Regions from separate parts of the Homo sapiens genome. Here all the other regions are linked to region 1. Evidence: promoter capture Hi-C in human tissues and cell types (Jung and others, 2019). All regions are on one chromosome and are shown on one strand. The core of a region is centred on a gene start or on the middle of the fragment in contact, and the rest is flanking DNA. Distances in the headings are between cores, read along the strand shown.

Region 1 (2,947 bases), core at 259-2,758:
TTGTTTGTTTTTGAGACAGGGTCTCGCTATGTCACCCATGCTGAGTGGGGTGCAGTAGTGCAAGCATGGTGCTCACTGCAGTCTCCTGGGTTCAGGGGATCCTCTGGCCTCCCAAGGAGCTGGGACTACAGGTTTGAGCTAACATGCCTGGCTAATTTTTTTATTTTTAGTAGACAGGAGGTCTCCTTATGTTGGCCAAGCTGGTCTAGAACTCCTGGGCTCAAGAGATCCTCCTGCCTTGGCCTCCCAAAGCATTGGGATTACAGGCATGAATCGCTGTGCCTGGCCTGATTTTGTTGTACTGCGAGAGAATAAAATGCAGTATAACCTTAATTGTTTGGGGGTCTATTAGATTCTTATGTATTTATTTATTTATTTATTTTTCTAAAAATATAGATGGGGTCTCACTATGTTGACCAGGCTGGTCTCTAACTCCTGGCCTCAAGGGATCCTCCCATCTCAGCTTCCCAAAGTGTTGGGATTACAGGCATAAGCCACCGCACCCGGCTGACATTATGTAAACACTCTTTCTATTCTCCTTGAATTTCTCCTAATTTCTCCTTGAAGTGTACAGGGAAAATAAAAGGAGCTAGAATTCAAAGCCATCTAAATTCTATCTGGCTAATAGCTGTTTGATAAAACCTCCATAGGGAACAAATGAAAACTTTTTTTTTTTTTGAGATAGAGTTTCGCTTTTGTTGCCCAGGCTGGAGTGCAATGGTGCAATCTTGGCTCACCACAACCTCCACCTCCCTGGTTCAAGCAATTCTCCTACCTCAGCCTCCTGAGTAGCTGGGATTACAGGCAAGTGCAATCATGCCCAGCTAACTTTTTGTATTTTTAGTAGAAACGGTGGTTTCTCCATGTTGGTCAGGCTGGTCTTGAACTCCCGACCTCAGTGATCCGCCCGCCTCGGCCTCCCAAAGTGCTGGGATTACAGGCGTGAGCCACCATGCCCGGCTTGATTTATTTCTTAAATGGCTTTATTAAACCTGATATAAAGAGATTAATGTCAAATTGGAGCTTGTTATATCCACAGTCGGTGTCAGGTGAAATTGTCATTTGAAGTCAAAGCTACCCTAAATACAGTCAAATATCATGAAAGTGATTTCTAAAATAAACAAAAATGTACTTGGTCACAGAAAGTTTAAAAAGAAAATTGCAGTCTGTAAACTTCAGATTCACTACCTACCTCTCTGGCTCGATGGAGCTGTGCGCGCTCAATCCTAGAGATGATATCCTTTACTGAGAATGGGATCTCAAGGTTAGGGAGCATCAAAGGACTAAGGATATTTTGGGGCTCTCTTCTCATGATGGTGGAATCCTTGATGCATTTTTCTGATTCAGGGTCATTGTCTATCTCATTTTTCATTTTGAAGAACATTTTGAAAATGTGGGTGATTTCGTTTTATTTCTTCTTTTTCACAGAATCTACAAAAATGCTAATAAAGATATCCAGTAGGAAGCTAGGAGAGGTCTTTCCTGATCCTAGAAGTTGTGGCATACTCTGCTACTAATTGGTGGCTCCCATGATATTCCCGTCCTGTTGATGTCACAATAGACCCATTGTGACATTATCATTGATCAAACATGTAAAGAATGCTTACTATGTGCAGAGAACTGGTCATTCTATATGCTGCCATGGTAGAAGGGTGAGGGGGGAAGGAGGGTAGGAAATAATAGACAACAGGAATGCTAAAATAAACAGAAGATATAGCCCTGCTTAAATAAGCTTAAAATCTAGATGTGTTGGCCGGGTGCAGTGGCTCATGCCTGTAATCCCAGCACTTTGGGAGGCCGAGGCAGGTGGATCACCAGAGGTCGGAGTTCGAGACCAGCCTGACCAACATGGAGAAACCCCGTCTCTACTAAAAAAAAAAAAATACAAAATTAGCCATGTGAGGTGGCACATGCGTGTAGTCCCAGCTACTTGGGAGGCTGAGGCAGGAGAATCACTTGAACCCGGGAGGCGGAGGTTGTGGTGAGCCGAGATCACGTCATTGCACTCCAGCCTGGGCAACAAGAGTGAAACTGTCTCAAAAAAAAAAAAAAAAAAATCTAGGTGTGTCAAATATAACTCCTGGTTCTTCTCTCTTCCTGGGGTTTTGCTTAAGTATTTTTAAGCCTGTAATGGAATAAAGGTTACAACTACTTCCTCAGCTGCCCCTTAACTTTTCCTAGACATGTAGTAACTTGGATGATATCATTTGGATGAAGTAACTTGGATGATATCATTTGGATGAGGATCACACTCTTTGCACTGCTTACTCTTTTTTCTTTTCTTTTCTTTTCTTTCCCTTTTTTTTGGAGACAGAGTCTCACTTTGTTACCCAGGCTGGAGTGCAGTGGTGTGATCTTGGTTCATGGCAACCTCTGCCTCCCAGGTTCAAGAGATTCTTGTGCCTCAGCCTCCCTGAGTAGCTGGAATTACAGGTGCGCGCCACCACGCCTGGCTAATTTTTGTTTAATATTTGCTTCCAATTTTTTTAATAATAAAAAAGCATTACAGAAGGTTGAAGTCCTCTTTGATGTCCCCCACCCCTGGTTCCTTCCTTCCCCACTGTCCCATTCCAGAGGAAATGACAATCATGAATTTTACATATTTGTGTTATCTATTTTTACATAGTTTTACTACAGGTGTATGTATTGTTTTTTCTTTCTTTCTTTCTTTCTCCTTCCTTCCTTCCTTCCTTCCTTCCTTCCTTCCTTCCTTCCTTCCTTCCTTTCTTTCTTTCTTTTTTTTTTTTTGAGGCAGAGTCTCACTCTGTTGTCCAGGCTGGAGTGTAGTAGTGCCATCTCAGCAGACTGTAACCTCTGCCTCCCAGGTTCAAACGATTCTTCTACCTCAGCCTCCCGAGTAGCTGGGATTACAGGCATGCGCCACCACACCTGGCTAATTTTTTTTTTTTTTTTTTTTGAGACGGAATCTCGCCTGTGGCCCAGGCTG
Region 2 (2,847 bases), core at 121-2,620, 44 kb before region 1:
CAGATTCCAGGAGGTCCCCAGGGATGGAAGAGGCTTCAGGAACTAAGGGCTGCCCAGGAGAAAGAGGAGCCCAGAGACTTGGAATCTGTCCAGAAGTGGGTGGAACTCCAGCTATAAAGGGCTGCCCTGGAGTGGGAGGGGCCCGAGATATTGGGAGCTGCCCAGGGGAGGGAGGGGCCTGTGGTGCCGGGAACTGCGCAGAAGTGGATTGACCTCCGTATACCAGGGTCTGTCCAGAGGAACGAAGAGTCTGTGGTGCCCCAAGCTTCCCAGGCTCAGAAAGAATCCCCATTTCTAGGGGCTTCCCAGGGGCAAAGGGGCCTTGGTTGAGGGGAACCCTTGATATCTGCAAAGGAGTAGAAGAGACCCCGAATATAGAGGACTTCTCAGCAGTAGGAGCTGATGATGCCAGGGACAGCCTAAGACTTGGAGACAATCTTGATATGATGGATTGCCCAGTGGGGAGAGAAGCCTTCGATTTCTGAAATGGTCTATGGGACCACTGGACTTGCTTAAGGGTGAGGGGCGATCCCAAGGTATGGGCTTTATCTAAGGTGAGAGGAACCCCTAACTTCAATAACTGTTCTTGAGCCTGTTCTAAGTTCATAGGGGACTCCAAAGCGTGGGTTTGCTCAGAGGTAAGAGTGACAGCTGACACCCAGGCATTTACTGGGGTGATGGGGACTCCCAGTGCCTGGGCCTGCTGAGGGGTGAGAGTGATCCCCTGAGCCTGCGCCTGCTGAGGGGTGAGAGAGATCCCCAGAGCCTGGGCCTGCTGAGGGGTGAGAGGGATCCCCTGAGCCTGCGCCTGCTGAGGGGTGAGAGGGATCCCCAGTTCCTGCGCCTGCTGAGGGGTGAGAGGGATCCCCAGTTCCTGCGCCTGCTGAGGGGTGAGAGGGATCCCCAGGGCCTGGGCCTGCTGAGGGGTGAGAGGGATCTCCAATTCCTGAGCCTGCGGAGGGATGAGAGGGATCCCCAGGGCCTGGACCTGCTGAGGGGTGAGAGGGATCCCCAATTCCTGAGCCTGCGGAGGGATCAGAGGGATCCCCAGGGCCTGGGCCTGCTGAGGGGTGAGAGGGATCCCCAATTCCTGAGCCTGCGGAGGGATGAGAAGGATCCCCAGGGCCTGGGCCTGCTGAGGGGTGAGAGGGATCCCCAATTCCTGAGCCTGCGGAGGGATGAGAGGGATCCCCAGGGCCTGGGCCTGCTGAGGGGTGAGAGGGATCCCCAATTCCTGAGCCTGCTGAGGGGTGAGAGTGATCCCCAGCTCCTGAGCCTGCTGAGCGGTGAGAGGCATCCCCAGGGCCTGGGCCTGCTGAGGGGTGAGAGTGATCTCCTGAGCCTGTGCCTGCTGAGGGGTGAAAGGGATCCCCAATTCCTGAGCCTGCTGAGGGGTGAGAGGGATCCCCAGTTCCTGAGCCTGCTGAGTGGTGAGAGGCATCCCCAAGGCCTGAGCCTGCTGAGGGGTGAGAGGGATCCCCAGTTCCTGAGCCTGCTGAGTGGTGAGAGGCATCCCCAAGGCCTGAGCGTGCTGAGGGGTGAGAGGGATCCCCAGTTCCTGAGCCTGCTGAGTGGTGAGAGGCATCCCCAAGGCCTGGGCCTGCTGAGGGGTGAGAGTGATCTCCTGAGTCTGCGCCTGCTGAGGGGTGAGAGGGATCCCCAGGGCCTGCGCCTGCTGAGGGGTGAAAGGGATCCCCAGAGCCTGTGCCTGCTTAGGGGTGAGAGGGATCCCCAGGGTCTGGGCCTGCTGAGGGTTGAGAGGGATCCCCAATTCCTGAGCCTGCTTAGGGGTGAGAGTGATCCCCAGGGCCTGGGCCTGCTGAGGAGTAAGAGGGATCCCCAGTTCCTGAACCTGCTTAGGGGTGAGAGTGATTCCGAGAGCCTGCGCCTGCTGAGGGGTGAGAGGGATCCCCAATTGCTGGGCCTGCTGAAGGGTTAGAGTGATCCCCAGGGCCTGGGCCTGCTGAGGGGTGAGAGGGATCCCCAATTCCTGAGCCTGCTGAGGGGTGAGAGAGACCCTCAGGGCCTGGGCCTGCTGAGGGGTGAGAGGGATCCCCAATTCCTGAGCCTGCTGAGGGGTGAGAGGGATCCCCAGGGCCTGGGCCTGCTGAGGGGTAAGAGGGATCCCTAGTTTCTGAGCCTGCTGAGTGGTGAGAGAGATCCCCGGGGCCTGGTCCTGCTGAGGGGTGAGAGTGATCCCTTGAACCTGGGTCTGCTGAGGGGTGAGAGGGATCCCCAGGGCCTGCGCCTGCTGAGGGGTGAAAAGGATCTCCAGGGCCTGGGCCTGCTGAGGGGTGAGAGGGATCCCTAGTTCCTGGGCCTGCTGAAGGGTGAGCGTGATCCCCTGAGCCTGGGCCTGCTGAGGAGTGAGTGTGATCCCCACTTCCTGGGCCTGCTGAGGTGTGAGATGAATGCATTTAGTGAGAGGCTGGCCAGAAATAGGAAGAGCTCCAGGCAGGGAGTATTGTAGGGAGGGGGGAGGTGTGATTGATATGGGCTCCTTTTCATCAGGAAGGTTCTCTAATGTCTTCAGATTCCTCTGAAACTCTTTTCCTTCATATGACCGCTGTACATCTTTCAATACACTCTTCCACCTGGGAGATAATGTCATTGGAGTTTGGATGACCATTTTTTCTAGCTCTTTAGGTTGTGTTTCCTTCATCTGCATCTGATCCTTTGTTTTGATCTGCCTTTCGAGGTCCTCTAGCCCTCTCTCTGGCTTCTGCTTTTCCTTCCCTTTCTCCCTTCTCCTGTGTGGCCCCAAATGTTTCGCTTCCTTCTGAATCTGCCTCATCTGTCCATTCTCCTTTTCCAAGAGCAACCCTTGTGTTTTCATTTTTTGGGTCC
Region 3 (3,104 bases), core at 358-2,857, 45 kb after region 1:
TTTCACTAAGCATTTAGCTTGCCACTGGAAGTGAAATACTTACGCTTTGCTTATTGTAAAATAAATCATCCCAAAATCATGTACAAAATACATCTCCTGGCCAAGTGGAGTGGCTCGTGCCTGTAATCTCAGCACTTTGGAGTGCTCAGGCGGAAGGATCGCTTGCATCCGGGAGTTTGAGACCAGACTCAAATATATCTCCTATTAACTCTGTATTTGTTTTGAAACAGCCCATCCTCAGTGGAAAAATGGGCAAAAGTTAAGTGAAGTGATAGGACCAAAGACATGAAGATAGGCTTAACATTACTAGTAAACAAACCAACAAAAAATGCCAATTATTGATGTATTTTTTAGAGTTAACTAATTTTCTTTTTCTTTTTAGGAAGTGAAAGGTTTGTTCAAAAGTGAAAACTGCCCCAAAGTGATAAGCTGTGAGTTTGCACACAATAGCAACTGGTATATCACTTTCCAGTCAGACACAGATGCACAACAGGTAAGAAGAAAACATTTTCTGATACAAGTCCATCCTAGTGGCAAAATAAGTAGTGGTATATTTTAATTGAGAAAATGTGTGTTTACACTGATGTTTATCAAGACTAGTGAGTACCTTGGTCACCCTTTTGCTTTTGCTCAATTGGTTTCCTTTTTGATCATCTTCCTAAAGTTTTTCAGTTTTGATTTAGGAAGTTTGTTTTCTGTCGATAAGAATATTAACATAACAGTTTTAAAATTAACATAGGGATCGAGAACCATGTACCTAGTGGTATTTTTAGTACATAATAGGTCTGCAATAAACAAAATTCTTGGAATTTTGACTTGATGGTTTTATTCTTTTTTTTTTTTTTGAGACGGAGTCTCACTCTGTCGCCCGGGCTGGAGTGCAGTGGCGCAATCTCGGCTCACTGCAACCTCCACCTCCTGGGTTCAAGTGATTCTCCTGCCTCAGCCTCCCAAGTAGCTGGAATTACAGGCACCCGCCACTACACCCAGCTAATTTTTTGTATTTTTAGTAGAGGTGGGGTTTCACCATATTGGTCAGGCCGGTCTCAAACTCCTGACCTCGTGATTCGCCTGCCTCAGCCTTCCGAAGTGCTGGGATTACAGGCATGAGCCACTGCACCCGGTGATGGTTTTATTCTTAATTGTTAACATGTCTTAAAGAGAAATAATCCTTTGAAACACAAATATATCTATGATAAGGGTGTTTAAAAATCACTCACAGATTTTTATTTTTTAAAACAATTTATTAGAAAGTTGATCATTTTTAAATTGGTTTCTAGGGATATTTTGGGTCTGTTTTCAATCCTAATGCATTTTGTCTGCAGTAATCCATGGTGGCTTTTCTACAATAAATATGAACTGTGATTGAGAAGGCGTTACATTTTTACTTTTTCATTCCCTGTCCACCTGCACAGTGGAATCACCTACATAATTTTGTTTTTATAGTTTAATACTAAACTCTCAACATAATAAAGATAACTTTACTGAAATGTTTGAATGCTAATGAAAGTTTTTTTTGTGCTTTGTTAACAGGCTTTTAAATACTTAAGAGAAGAAGTTAAAACATTTCAGGGCAAGCCAATTATGGTAAGAAATAGAGATCAGTGTGAAACCAGAACAGGTTTTGGTTCTCTGTATGAGAATTTAAAAAATACAGACAGATAATATTTTATAAAAACCCATAGTGACTTTCAAAAAGTTTCTGGCTTGGTCCAGGCGTGGTGGCTCACACCTGTGATCCCAGCACTTTGGGAGTCCAAGGCAGGTGGATAGCATGACGCCAGGAGTTCGAGACCAGCCTTGCCAATATGATGAAACCCCATCTCTACTAAAAATAGAAAAAATTAGCCGGGTGTTGTGGCACACGCCTGTAGTTCCAGATACTTGAGAGGCTGAGGCAGGAGAACTGCTTTAACCCGGGAGGCGTAGGTTGCAGTGAGCAGAGATTGCATCACTGCACTCCAGCCTGGGGGACAGAGCAAGACCTTGTCTCAAAAACAACAACAACAAATTTTCTGGCTTGTATTATGTGCTACTTCAGAAAATCCTTTGATAAGCCATAAAAATACTTTGTGTACAGCAATTCTTTACAAAGGGGTAACTTCAAATAGCATGAGGTTTAATTAGATGCTGATTTACAACATATGAGATAATTCCAGATCTCAAAATGAGCAATAGAAATAATTTTTAGTAACAGATGAAAAATATTCACAGTACTTTCAACCTCATCTCAATTAACTGCATCACTACGTACCATCAATACAACCATTTGGAAACCTAGGCATTGTCACTGATGACACATTTGATCCCTGTCTTTACATGTCTAATCTGTTCTCAGGTCCTGTGAAAATGCTTTCCAAAAATCTCCCATTGTTTAGGCTTGAACACTTGGAGTAGCCTCTTAACTGCTGTGTTACCAGTTTTTCCCCCCCTTAACAATCTGTTCTTCACATTGCTACCAGAGCTAGTGTTCTAAACCATAATCCAGTAACATACACTTAGTTCGACTTGATCCTCATTCCCTGTGTGCTATAGTTATTCTTATTTGTAAATGTAATACATTATTCTTACTAATCCCTCTGTGTTGAACTCTGTGTGTCACTTTCTGTTTTAAGCACTTTACATGTATTGACTCATTTAATCCTTACAGGAACCTAATGAGATAGTGCTTTTGTTTTCTTCAGTTTCCTAGTGAGGATAATAAGACACGAGGGTAACCTACCTAGTTTCACATAACTAGTAAGTGGAAGAACTAGGATAACAGTGACTTACATTTATTAAGAGGTTCTAAGAACTTACCATATTTAAATCTCATAATTGCTGTGAAGTAGGTGGGATTATTAGTTTCCATATTACAGATGAGGCTGTTTTCTAGCTGTCATTCTACTTCCTCTGTCTATGATGTTCTTCTCCCTTTTATCTTTCCCTGCTTTGAGGCTTTTATAAAGATATTCTCCTGAGTCTTCTTAATAGCTTTAAAGTTTTAAAGTATTTCAGAAGTGGGTCTTTGGTATATCTGGAATTAATTTTATATATAGTATAAGATAGGAATCTAGTTCTATTTTTCCCCATATATGGAAAGACATTTATTTCAACACTTAATT
Region 4 (3,118 bases), core at 570-3,069, 61 kb before region 1:
CTTTCATGTTTTTACAACATGCTGGACAGAGGGAGTGGAAAGCAGGTTACCTGGTTGAATACGTGTATCATTTTCTTCAGGCACTGATTCCGTTTCTGCCCTAGAGACTTCTGCTTCTCAGTCCAGACCTGCATCACCTTTTTCCCGTAGTCATCAAGTCTGCTCAGCATCATGTGGAGGTTCCTGGCCTCATAGCCTTTCCCAGTATTTTGGATGGCTTTTAGTCGTTTCATTATGTTGTTCCTTGAAAAGATTAATAAAAATTAGAGCGATAATAGTTGCAGACCCTACTTCAACAAACTTGTCCTCAGTTTCTTTTTTTTTTTTGAGACGGAGTTTCGATCTTGTTGCCCAGGCTGGAGGTGCAATGGTGCAATCATGGCTTATTGCAACCTCCACCTCCTGGATTCAAGAAATTATCCTGCCTCAGCTTCCTGAGTAGCTGGGACTACAGGTGCGCACCACCATGCCCAGCTAATTTTTGTATTTTTAGTAGAGACGGGGTTTCTCCATGTTGGTCAGGCTGGTCTCAAACTCCTGACCTCGTGATCCACTTTCCTTGTCCTCCCAAAGTGCTGGGATTACAGTCCTGAGCCACTGAGCATGGCCTCTTTTTAATTTAATTTTATTTTTTTGAGACAGAGTCTCACTCTGTTGCCCAGGCTGGAGTGCAGTGGTGTGATCTTGACTCACTGCAACCTCTGCCTCATGGGTTCAAGCGATTCTCATGCCTCAGCCTCCCAAGTAGCTGGGAATACAGGTGTGCACCACCACGCCCAGCTAATTTTTGTATTTTTAGTAGAGATGGGGTTTTGCCATGTTGTCCAGGCTGGTCTTGAACTCTTGACCTCAAGCGATCCTCCTGCCACAGCCTCCCAAAATGTTGGGATTACAGGAGTGAGCCACTATGCCCAACCTGTCCTCAGTTTCTTTCAATTCTCTCATCATCCCCAGTAAGTAGAGAAGGATGGGAAGCTTGCTTAATAAGACTTTAATCCAGTTCCTATGAATGAACCTTCAAAAATCTATATGATTATCAAAATTTTCATTAAGTCTTCACAAAATTTCCAGTGTTAAAATAGTGTTGCTTACAATTATTTTAATATATTTTAAAAATTATGCCAGGTGAAGTGGCTCATGCCTGTAATCCCAGCACTTTGGGAGGCTGAGGTGGGAGGATCGCTTGAGGCCAGGAGTCTGTGACCAGCTTGGGCAATATAGTAAGACTCCGTCTCTGCAAAATAAAAATAGCTGGGCATGGTGGCACATACCTGTAGACACAGCCACTCAGGAGGCTGAGGTGAGAGGCTTGCTTGAGCCTAGGGAGTTCGAGGCTGCAGTGAGTTATGATCACGCCATTACATTCACCTTTTTGTTAAGGGCAAGACTCCAACTCTTAAAAAATTAGTTAAATGTGGCTATTTGTAATAAAAATTACCTTAGGGGATAAGATAGATCATTTTTTTCATATGTATAGATATGTGTAAGACACATAGAAGGTAAGGCCGGGCACAGTGTCTCACGCCTGTAATCCAAGCACTTTGGGAAGCCAAGGCTGGTGGATCACAAGGTCAAGAGTTCAAGAGCAGCCTGGCCAACATGGTGAAACCCCATCTCCTCTAAAAACACAAAAATTAGCCAGGTGCGGTGGCAGGTGACTGTAATCCCAGCTACTTGGGAGGCTGAGGCAGAAGAATCACTTGAACCCGAGCAACAGAGGTTGCAGTGAGCCGAGATCGTGCCACTGCACTCCAGCCTGGGCAACAGAGTGTGAGATCCTATCTCAAAAAAAAAAAAATGACACATAGAAAGTACTTAATACAATTATGGAAAAGACAGTGTCCTTGCCTTCAAAAGCACTTATAATCCAGAATAGGACACTACGTTACTTGTAAAAAAAAAGAAATAGAATGAAATAAATGCTAACTAAATAGGCTGCAGGAGCAAAAAGGAAAGCATAGTTAATTCCAGTAAGGGTAATAAGGCCGGGCGCAGTGGCTCATGCCTGTAATCCCAGCACTTTGGGAGGCCGAGGTGGGCAGATCACGAGGTCAGGGGCTCCAGACCAGACTGACCAACATGGTGAAACCCTGACTCTACTAAAAAATACAAAAATTAGCCCGGTGTGATGGCGGGCGCCTATAGTCCCAGCTACTCAGGAGGCTGAGGCAGGAGAATCACTTGAACCTGGGAGGTGGAGGTTGCAGTGAGCCGAGACCACACCATTGCACTCCAGCCTGGGTGACAGAGTGAGACTCCATCTCAAAAAAAAAAAAAAGAGTAATAAAGAAGGCTTTATAGGAAGGTGTCAAGCAGAATTTTGAGGGACAGTCATAAAAAGATTCTCCCTTTCTCTCTCTCTCCCTACTGCCCTCCTATAATGTATTCCACCACATTTTGGTGGTCCTAAACAGAGTTTTGCCATCCTCATTCTACAGAAGAGGAAAAGAAATCTCAGCAAAGTTAAGTGTTTTTTCTAATGTCCCATAATTGATAAATGGTAGATTTGGGAAGCAAGCCCAGAACTTCTTTCTTCCACAATGCCAATATTTCTCAAGGTGCGGACTCTGATCACCTAGACTGAACCATATGGGGTAGACGGGTGGGGTGCTTGTTGAAAATGCAGGTTCCAAGGTCCTTCTCCATACCTTTTGAATCAAAATCTTAGTGGTAGGCTTCAGGAATCTGCATTTTAAAATCTCAGGTAACTCTTACTTTACTAAAGTTTGAAAACCATTGTGCTTACGGACAGAACAGGGAAGAAGGGGATGAGGAAGTCCAGGTGGAGAAATCCCATAAACAAAGGTAAGAAAACGAAAGTTATATTTTGAGAGTGATGAGTAGTCTGGGGTTTTTGACCACAGATATGTGAAAGGATATAGTGGGGGATGAGACTGGAATGGTTGGATAGTGAAAGATGAAAGGCTTTCAAAGGTATGTTAAGGAGTTTGGATCTTCTCTTATTTTTTTTTTTGGTAGATGATGGGGACCCATCAAAGACATTTTTCTAAATATATGTATTTTATATACATGCGTATATATATATATTGCCTCAGGTGAATCAGTGAGATTTACCTGAGATTTTATTTATCCATCTCTATCTATATTGAGAGAGAAG

The links. The method cuts DNA at HindIII sites, captures the fragments that hold promoters and counts their contacts. A contact is called where the count stands out against the background at its distance.
Region 2: a fragment that was not itself captured here is called in contact with the fragment with the promoter of FAM186A in region 1 in 1 of the 25 tissues and cell types used here (bladder).
Region 3: a fragment that was not itself captured here is called in contact with the fragment with the promoter of FAM186A in region 1 in 1 of the 25 tissues and cell types used here (hippocampus).
Region 4: a contact is called between a fragment that was not itself captured here and the fragment with the promoter of FAM186A in region 1, in 1 of the 25 tissues and cell types used here (mesenchymal stem cells).

Annotation. Positions count from the first base shown.
Region 1 is chr12:50,395,101-50,398,047 of GRCh38, forward strand. It overlaps FAM186A (family with sequence similarity 186 member A), which reads right to left and starts at 1,509. Exons shown (of 8, transcript NM_001145475.3): 1 at 1,193-1,509. The coding sequence starts at 1,384. The HindIII fragment of the contact is 8,551 bases long and covers 1-2,947 here.
Region 2 is chr12:50,351,203-50,354,049 of GRCh38, forward strand. It overlaps FAM186A (family with sequence similarity 186 member A), which reads right to left. Exons shown (of 8, transcript NM_001145475.3): 4 at 1-2,847. Among named protein-coding and RNA genes, the nearest start is that of FAM186A, 44 kb to the right of the region's middle. The HindIII fragment of the contact is 3,491 bases long and covers 1-2,847 here.
Region 3 is chr12:50,440,057-50,443,160 of GRCh38, forward strand. LARP4 (La ribonucleoprotein 4) reads left to right here. Exons shown (of 16, transcript NM_052879.5): 7 at 383-493; 8 at 1,534-1,587. Among named protein-coding and RNA genes, the nearest start is that of SNORD133, 15 kb to the right of the region's middle. The HindIII fragment of the contact is 6,893 bases long and covers 1-3,104 here.
Region 4 is chr12:50,333,861-50,336,978 of GRCh38, forward strand. FAM186A (family with sequence similarity 186 member A) reads right to left here. Exons shown (of 8, transcript NM_001145475.3): 5 at 51-243. Among named protein-coding and RNA genes, the nearest start is that of LIMA1, 52 kb to the left of the region's middle. The HindIII fragment of the contact is 5,482 bases long and covers 1-3,118 here.